Regions from separate parts of the Homo sapiens genome. Here regions 1 and 3 are each linked to region 2. Evidence: promoter capture Hi-C in 16 types of primary human blood cells and fetal thymus (Javierre and others, 2016). All regions are on one chromosome and are shown on one strand. Each heading gives the region's core, a stretch centred on a gene start or on the middle of the fragment in contact. The rest is flanking DNA. Distances are from core to core; before and after follow the strand shown. Region 1 holds the start of EFR3B (EFR3 homolog B). Region 2 overlaps LOC105374329 (a long non-coding RNA gene). Region 3 holds the start of POMC (proopiomelanocortin).

Region 1 (2,700 bases), core at 57-2,556, 640 kb after region 2:
CATAAATTAACCTCTCAACGTTAAATGAAGTAAAATGAAGTTCAGTTCTTAAGTATCTTTAAGTTCCTTTCCTCTCTAACTTCTACTAGTAGAATATTTCTACCAGTAGAAAAAAACAAAAGAAAACCCAAACAACTCTCAACCATGGGCCAAGAGAAACTAAGAAATCGATATTGAAAGGCCAGGAGGGGCAGGAGAAGTGGCTCAGGCCTGTAATCTCAGCACTTTGGGAGGCCGAGGCGGGCGGATCACTTGAGGTCAGGAGTTCCAGACCAGCCTGGCCAACATGGTGAAATCCCTTCTCTACCAAAAAATACAAAAATTAGCCGGGCGTGGTGGCACGCACCTGTAGTCCCAGCTACTCTGGAGGCTGAGGTGGAAGAATCGCTTGAACCCAGGAGGCGGAGTTTGCAGGGAGCCGAGATAGTGCCACTGTACTCCACCCTGGGCGAGAGTGAGACTCCATGTCAAAAAAAAAAAAAAAAAAAAAAAAAAAAAAAAAAAAGACGGGAACGTGTGCAATGTAAAGAAGGCTGGATGAGAAGCCCAGGGAAGTCCTGAGCTAGCTTAGGAGAGATCTTCAGGTGTGGGCGTAGGCATGAGCCGCTGCCTCTCTGTGCCTGTTCCTCATAGGGTCACGGCAGGTGCAGAGCTGGAATTCAAGTCGGCGCTGGGGCTCAGCTGGAGAGGATCCTGGCGGCAAAGCTTGCGAATTACACATATAAATCAGGGAGAGGAAAAGCAAGCGGACTTCCTGCAGCCCTTGGGGGTTGGGAGTGGGGTGCGTTTCCTGCGTCCCTGACCCGGGAAGGACGCTGTTTGGTGGTAGCAAGCACCTAGCCAGAGAGTGGCTGGGCACCTAGCCAGAGAGTAGCTGGTAGGGCGCAGCTGAGGGCTGGAGGGCTTCATCAGAGAACGGCGCTCAGCTAAGGTACCTAGCCAGGAGAGGGTGGAAGTCATTCCCCAATTCCCATCCTTGCGCCCCCCGGCTTAGCCCACGCAGCCTGGACAGAACTGGAGGAGGGGTGCACCTGCAGCTCTCAGCGCCCCGGCTGACCTCGAGGACCCCAGGTTAGGGAGAGCTTCCGAGCGCTCCGACAGGAGCAGGGAGTTGGGGTGGGTAGCTCCGCAGGTGCACGCTGCGGCCCTTAGGGCGACAGCCTCGGAAAAGGCGCATCTCCGGCTGTGGGTTTCTCGGGGGCGGGGCGCAGGGGCGGGGCGGGGCGAGGGGCTCGCAGAGGCCTCGGGTTGGCCGAGCCGGGAGGGAGGAGCATTAGTATTAGCATAGCCCCCGCCCCCTGCGCGCAGCAGTGCCCAGCAACCCGAGCGGAGGCGGCCGCTGCAGCCCGGCGCTGAATGGGCTGGCGGCGCCCGGCTCCGTCCTGCCCGCGGCCGGCCCCCGCGTCTGCTCCCTCCCCGCCCGGGCCCCTGTCGGCCGCCGCCAGTCCCCGCCCCGACTGTGAATGAAAGGCGGGCGCCGCCGAGGGCTGGCTGGGAACGCCGCAGCGACGCCGGCCTCTCGAGAGGCGCGCGCCCCGCCGAGATGTACGGTAAGGAGGGCTCCGCGCCCGGGCCCGGGCCCGCGGGGGCGACTCCGCAAACTTCCCCGGCGCGGACCATTGTCCCCCTGCACGGCCCTGGCGCGGGGCCAGGCCGCTGACCTGGTGCCCGGCGGGGCTGTTGCGGTCGCTCTGTGCGCGCGCGTCTGCGCTGCGAGGACAAAGATGCCTCGGGCCGGGGACCCTGGGGTCCTCTCCAGGCCCGGCGCGTGCCGGTGCTGGGCGGTGGTCCTTCGGGGGGCGGAGGCTCAGGGGAAAGCGGGTCTCCCGGAGCCGAGCAGACCGGGAGTGCTGGAGGAGGTGGTCGTGTGGCAGCATTTGCGGAATTAACAAAAGCGGTTTGTGCCTGGGAGTTTTCTGTGGGAAGCCGGTCCAGGGCTGAGGGAGACGCCCGCGGCCGGTCGTCTGCGCGGCTCGGAGAAGGCGGGAGGCGGCGCCGGCGGCGCAGAGGCCCGGGGAGCAGCCAGTGGCCGAGTCTCGTCTCGCCCGCCTGAATGGACTCGGCCTCTGCCTGCCCCTGCCGCCCCGCGGGATCCAGGTTCACCAACTTCCAGATTTTCCCTCCGCAGTGATGAAGGGAGGAGACGCTGCTGAGAGGGTGCAGCACAGCCCTGACCTCTCCCCGCCTCCACCGCCATCCCCTCAACTGCCGTGCAACAGTTAGCCAGACCCTCACGATGCACGGCTCTGCTTGATCATTTGCTAGGACTCCCTCTGGTTTTGCAGGCAGTGTGGGTGAAGAAGAGAGAGCGCGTTGGGTCCCACATTGCAGCTCTGATGAATGGAGCACTGGAGACCTAGACCAGTCTAGGAATGGACTGCATTCCTGAGCCTGCAGCCCACCAAGGGCTGTGCGTGTGTGTGTGATCCCGGTAGACATAAGTCCATGAAAACCCAGGTCTCTGGCAGCTCTTCTAGTGCCAGCAAAATAATTGGAGCTGTGCTCACCTCCCACCCCCACTGCAAGGTAGGGGCTCAGGCTGCACTTGAGGGGTCAGTGTTTGGAGAAGAGTGCGTTCCCAATTTAACCCATCACTGAGGCTGCTCGGCTGCTCAGCTGCCTCGCTCCGCGAACAGACTGTGAGTCACAAAGTTTGTTAGAGGCAGAGGAAGCTGAGAGCCTGGTGGAAAGGCTCAGCAA
Region 2 (2,700 bases), core at 81-2,580:
TCATTGTAAGTTCAATTACAGCTGGAGGGATATAATTTATTGTAATTTATTAGTCATTGAATATCCATGTGCTCCCAAGACTCCCCAGCTCCCTTGCAGTTAGGAGGGCCTATGCGACTCGTTTTGACAAATGAGCCGTGAGTGGAAATGACATGTGTCACTTCTGGGACAAAGCACAAAGAGAAGAGCACTTTATCATTCTTGATTCCTCTCTCTTTTCTTGCCGCAATGACAGCCGAGGCCAAATGTGGAGATGGCATAACCAGAAGAGGGAACGAACTGGCCTGGATGTGACTCATGCTTGGAAGGGAGCTGTCTGGAAGGACCACAGTACCTGCAGCCAACTTTGTGTGAGTGGAAAATAAATAGGTTAAAGCAATACAATTGGGGGATTGTTATTGTAACATAACGTAGTCTATTCCTGGTTAATGCATTAACAATGCCCTCTCTTAACAGTAGCCGCTTTTTAAACTTCCCCCACTTACGTAAAACATAGTTTATAATATCTAACATTCATACTAATTTAAAAGTTTAATATTCACACAGGGAAGACATCTCTTGTTTAAAAATGTTGATGGCAAGGGAATTATTTATTTATTTGTTTAGAGACAGAGTCTCACTATGTTGCCCAGGCTGGACTCAAACTCCTGGATTCAAGTGATTCTCCTGTTCAGCCTCCTGAATAGCTGGTACTATAGGTACATGTCACCATACCCAGCAGAATCATAATTTTTTCTTTTTCTTGAGACAGAGTCTTGCTCTGTCACCCAGGCTGGAGTGCAGTGGTACCATCTCAGCTCACTGTAATCTCCACCTCCTGGGTTCAAGCGATTCTCCTGCCTCAGCCTCCCGAGTAGCTGGGACTACAGGTGCATGACACCACACCTGGCTAATTGTCGTTTGTTTGTTTTTGAGATAGAGTCTCGGTCTGTCGCCCAGGCTGGAGTGCAGTGGTGCAATCTCGGCTCACTGCAACCTCCGCCTCCTGGGTTCAAGCAATTCTCTGCTTCAGCCTCCTGAGTAGCTGGGATTACAGGCCCCCGCCACCATGGCCAGCTAATTTTTTGTATTTTTACTAGAGACGGGGTTTCACCATCTTGGCCAGGCTGGTCTTGAACTGACCTTGTGATCCACCCCCCTTGGCCTCCCAAAATGCTGGGATTAGAGATGTGAGTCACCACGCCGGGCCTAATTTTTGTATTTTTAGCAGAGATGGGGTTTCGCCATTTTGGCCAGGCTGGTCTCAAACTCCTGACCTCAAATGATCTGCCTGCCTTGGCCTCCCAAAGTGGTAGGATTACAGGTGTGAGCCACCGCGCCCAGCCTGTGTGGTGGCATATGCCTGTGATTCCAGCTACTTGGGAGGCTGAGGTGGGAGAATTGCTTGAACCCAGGAGGCGGAGGTTAGTGAGCTGAGACCAAGCCACTGCACTCCAGCCTGGGCGATAGAGTGAGACCCTGTCTCAAAAATAAATAAATAAATACAAATAATTAAAATTAATTTGTAAGAGTTCTTTAAAGTTCTTTCTCAAGAATATTTGATATAACTATAATTTTCCATTCCATGGCTTACCTTTCTACCTTCTTCATGGTGTTTTGTGATGGACAGAAGTTATTAATTTAATTAATTAATTTTTTTTTGAGATGGAGTCTTGCTCTGTCGCCCAGGCTGGAGTGCAGTGATGCGATCTTGGCTCACTGCAACCTCCACCTCCCGGGTTCAAGCAATTTTCCTACCTCAGCCTCCCAAGTAGCTGGGATTACAGGCAAGTGCCACCATGCCTGGCTAATTTTATTTTGTATTTTTAGTAGAGACGGGGTCTCACCGTGTTAGCCAGGATGGTGTCCATTTCCTAACCTCGTGATCTGCCTGCCTAGGCCTCCCAAAGGGCTGAGATTACAGGCGTGAGCCACCGGGCCAAGCCAAAGTTATTAATTTTAATGTGGCTTAATTTATCATTTTCTTTATAGTTAGTGGATTTTTTTTTCCTACTTGAGAAGAAAGTTCCTCTGGTCACTCTTTAATAACACAAGTATTTTTTCCTCATTAGTTTAAAAATCCAAATTTAACCGTATAATATTGAACAGATCTTGGCAGCCTAACCAATAGCCATGACCGACTTTTTCCCTGTTAACAAAGCAGAATTGATGGAAGAAGGGATTAGGAGAAATGTATACCCTGAAAACATAGTGTTTGGCCAAAGGCACCCCACACTTGATGCACTGAATCAGAATTCTTGGATTGGAACTTAGATGTGTGTAATTTTTGTTTTGTTTTGTTTGTTTTTGAGACAGAGTCTTGCTCTGTCGCCCAGGCTGGAGTGCAGTGGCTTGATCTCTGCTCACTACATCCTCCGCCTCCCGGGTTCAGGAGATTCTCCTGCCTCAGCCTTCTGAGCAGCTGGGATTACAGGCGCACACCACCATGCCCAGCTAATTTTTTTTGTTTTTAGTAGAGACGGGGTTTCAGCATGTTGGTCAGGCTGGTCTCAAACTCCTGACCTCGTGATCCACCCGCCTCGGCCTCCCAAAGTGTTGGGGTTACAGGCCACTGTGCCTGGCCAGTTTTTGTATTTTTAATAGTGATGGGGTTTTACCATGTTGGTCAGGCTGGTCTCGGACTCCTGACCTCAGGTGATCCTCCCACCTCAGCCTCCCAAAGTGCTAGGATTACAGGCATGAGCCACCATGCCCAGCCAG
Region 3 (2,700 bases), core at 34-2,533, 760 kb after region 2:
CACACTTTTATTTTCCTTGGCTCCTTCCAGCCATTCTGTAAGAACCCTCCCTGCCCCATTTAAACATGAAGAATTTGGGGAATCCAAATGCCAAGTGGACTGTCTCTCCTTCGCTGGAAACGCCCCTTACCTGAGCCTTGATCATTCCAAATGGCTGCCCGTGCCCTCAACCCAGGATCTGCGCCATAAACCGTCCACCCCGGTTCTGTTGAGGGCATCCGAAACTAGACAGTGCGTTTCAGGATCTAGGACAGCTCCCGCCCCGGCCACCTGTTTTTAACCCCAGCTAGGTCTTGGAGAGAAGAGACCCAACTATTCTGCATTGTAATTGACCCAGTTATCATGTAATTATCATAGCGCGGCCACCTCGGGTGCGCTAAGGTGGGCAAGGAAACAAGGATTCAGGGGTCTGAATCCGAAAAAATCCGGAAGGCAGGGCGTTCATTATGACTTTTATCCTTTTCTCTGCTGCCCCGTTTCCAACATTAATTTGCGATAGCGTGTATGGAATTTGACTTTCAAGATGTGACACCTATCCTGGAAACTGGGAGCAAGAGATACTAAAAGACCGGGCTGGCCGGGGGCGGTGGCTCGCGCCTGTAATGCCAGAACTTTGGGGGGCCAAGGCGGGCGGATCACCTGTTGTCGGGAGTTTGAGACCAGCCTGACCAACATGGAGAAACTCCGTCTCTACTAAAAATACAAAAATTAGCCGGGCGTGGTGGCGCATGCCTGTAATCCCAGCTACTCGGGAGGCTGAAGCAGGAGAATCGCTTGAACCCGGGAGGCGAAGGTTGCGGTGAGCAGAGATCACCCCTTTGCTCTCCAGCATGGGCAACAAGAGCGAAACTCCGTCTCAAAAAAAAAAAAAAAGACCGGGTTGTCCCAAGACCTCCTAGCAAGCTCTCGGAGCCTCCGGACCGCCGCGAGCCCCTGGGGGAGAGGAGGCCGCCGGCTCCCTGGAGACAGCGCCTGCAGCTTCGCGGCCGTCCGCCCAGGGGCCGGACGTGGGCCCTCCAGCTCAGCTACTGGCGGCTTCTCATGCCGCAGTCGGCGCAGAAAGTTTGTCGAGAACTCGGGACCGCGGAGAGCCAGAGGCGCCCAGGTCCGCCTTCGGAGCCGGAGCCGGCCGACTGCATCGCGAGGACGGGGACAGGGGATCCCGGGGAAAGAGCACGGGTCCCCCACGCTGCGCCCTTACCTGTCTCGGGAGGCTGCTCTCTGAGGGCGGGGACGCTCGGCGGCCTCTCTCGGTCGCGGCTCTTCTTCCCCTCCTTCGCCGCCGCTTGGTCCCGCGCTCCTCTGTCCTTATATACTTGCCGAGCTCTCCTGGTGGGCGCGGGACTTTGACCTTCCCGGCAGCACAAGGAGCAGCTCCCCGGGCCAGGGGAAGGGGGGCCGCGGGGCGTGGGAGGGGGGCTTCCAGACGGGGGACGAGCGCGGGGAGACGCGCTGGAAAGGGGCTGGAATTAGCACTGTCCTGCCGAAGGCGCACCTGGCCGCTCGCCCTCAGGAAGAACTTAATTATGGATGGCGTTGGGTCTCCGCTTAGAACGGGCGGGAGGCTTAGCACCCCCGTGTGGGGCAGGCCGGGCAGCCTCTGAGGTCGTTGAGGCGAGGGTGAAGTTACCTGCGTGCGTGCTGGGGCTGGCATCTGCCTGGTTCGCATTTGGCGGTAAATATCACCGTCTGCACACGGGGAGGCCTCCGATTTCCCCATTGTTTGGAAACTGTGATGTGGAAGTCGTGGGGAATCATATTCTCTCTGTTCCACTTTGGGGAGGGGAGGAGGGAGCAGAAGTCAGGAGCCGTCTTGTGGGTGTGAAGGTGAGTTGCACTGCTCCCCTGGGGCCTGCTCTCCAAGGGCCTGGTTTAGGGGAGGCTCCCTTCCGTGTCCCAAGCCTCAAGGAAAAAGTCCTGTTAACCTAAACCATTAAATGGGGAGAGGGTGATGCTGTGAAGAGCAGCTGAAGTGCTTTCCCTGTGGCCTCTGATCCCTCCCTTTGCCATGAGCTGGCAGGGTGGTCTGGGGACTCAGACAATTTTCAACATCCCCCTTGGCCCTGGAGTTCTGGCTTGGCTTTAGTTCCAAATATCAGACCAGAGAGAAGAGTACAGCACTCAAACCAAGCTAAGAGACTCTACCTTAACCTGGAGTAAATAAACAAAACCAAATTGTGCGATGTGGTGGGTGTGGGAGGGAGTATTGGGACTAAACTGGACTTCAAATCAAGACACTTGCTTAATCTGCCAAATGCCAGAACTTTCCTGATTCCCCATGAGATGCTCTTTTGGACTCCAGGACTCTCTTGTGGATTCAGCTTTTCTGGTGACATTGGCTTTACATTCAGCAATCCTTTCCCTTTGGACCACAAGAGAGATCCAAGCTCCGTCACAGTAGACAAGGTGCTTCATCACCCGGCTTTGGCCCCTTTCCAGGGCCATTTCCCAGTTCTCCACCTTGCATCCTGGCACTTCAGCATCCACAACATTCACACTGCTAGAACATGGCTTTCTTGGGTCTCCATTGTCCAAGCTGTTCCCCCAACTAGAACATCCTTCCTCTCTCCAGCCATCCAGGAGCTTGACTCACATCAAGATGTAGCCCATCCATCAGCCCCTGTTCTCTGAAGCCCTCTTTGGCCACTTTTCCTACCAGGGGCATGAGGCATGACCTCCTCTGCCTTCCACAGAAGTCCA

Evidence for each region. The method cuts DNA at HindIII sites, captures the fragments that hold promoters and counts their contacts. A CHiCAGO score of 5 or more calls a contact.
Region 1: the fragment with the promoter of EFR3B here is called in contact with a fragment that was not itself captured in region 2 in 1 of 17 cell types (fetal thymus); the score reaches 5.3 in fetal thymus.
Region 3: the fragment with the promoter of POMC here is called in contact with a fragment that was not itself captured in region 2 in 1 of 17 cell types (naive B cells); the score reaches 6.4 in naive B cells.

Annotation. Positions count from the first base shown.
Region 1 is chr2:25,040,770-25,043,469 of GRCh38, forward strand. It overlaps EFR3B (EFR3 homolog B), which reads left to right and starts at 1,307. Exons shown (of 23, transcript NM_014971.2): 1 at 1,307-1,550. The coding sequence starts at 1,544. RefSeq lists enhancers at 315-1,264, 1,265-2,213 and silencers at 1,171-1,790, 1,921-2,000, 2,111-2,240, 2,571-2,700. The HindIII fragment of the contact is 2,761 bases long and covers 704-2,700 here.
Region 2 is chr2:24,404,527-24,407,226 of GRCh38, forward strand. LOC105374329 (a long non-coding RNA gene) reads left to right here. Exons shown (of 3, transcript XR_001739340.3): 2 at 236-350. Among named protein-coding and RNA genes, the nearest start is that of ITSN2, 45 kb to the left of the region's middle. The HindIII fragment of the contact is 6,674 bases long and covers 1-2,700 here.
Region 3 is chr2:25,167,297-25,169,996 of GRCh38, forward strand. POMC (proopiomelanocortin) reads right to left here and starts at 1,284. Exons shown (of 3, transcript NM_000939.4): 1 at 1,202-1,284. RefSeq lists a promoter at 1,158-1,970, cis regulatory regions at 1,309-1,321, 1,387-1,560, 1,561-1,586 and an enhancer at 1,381-1,400. The HindIII fragment of the contact is 11,223 bases long and covers 1-2,700 here.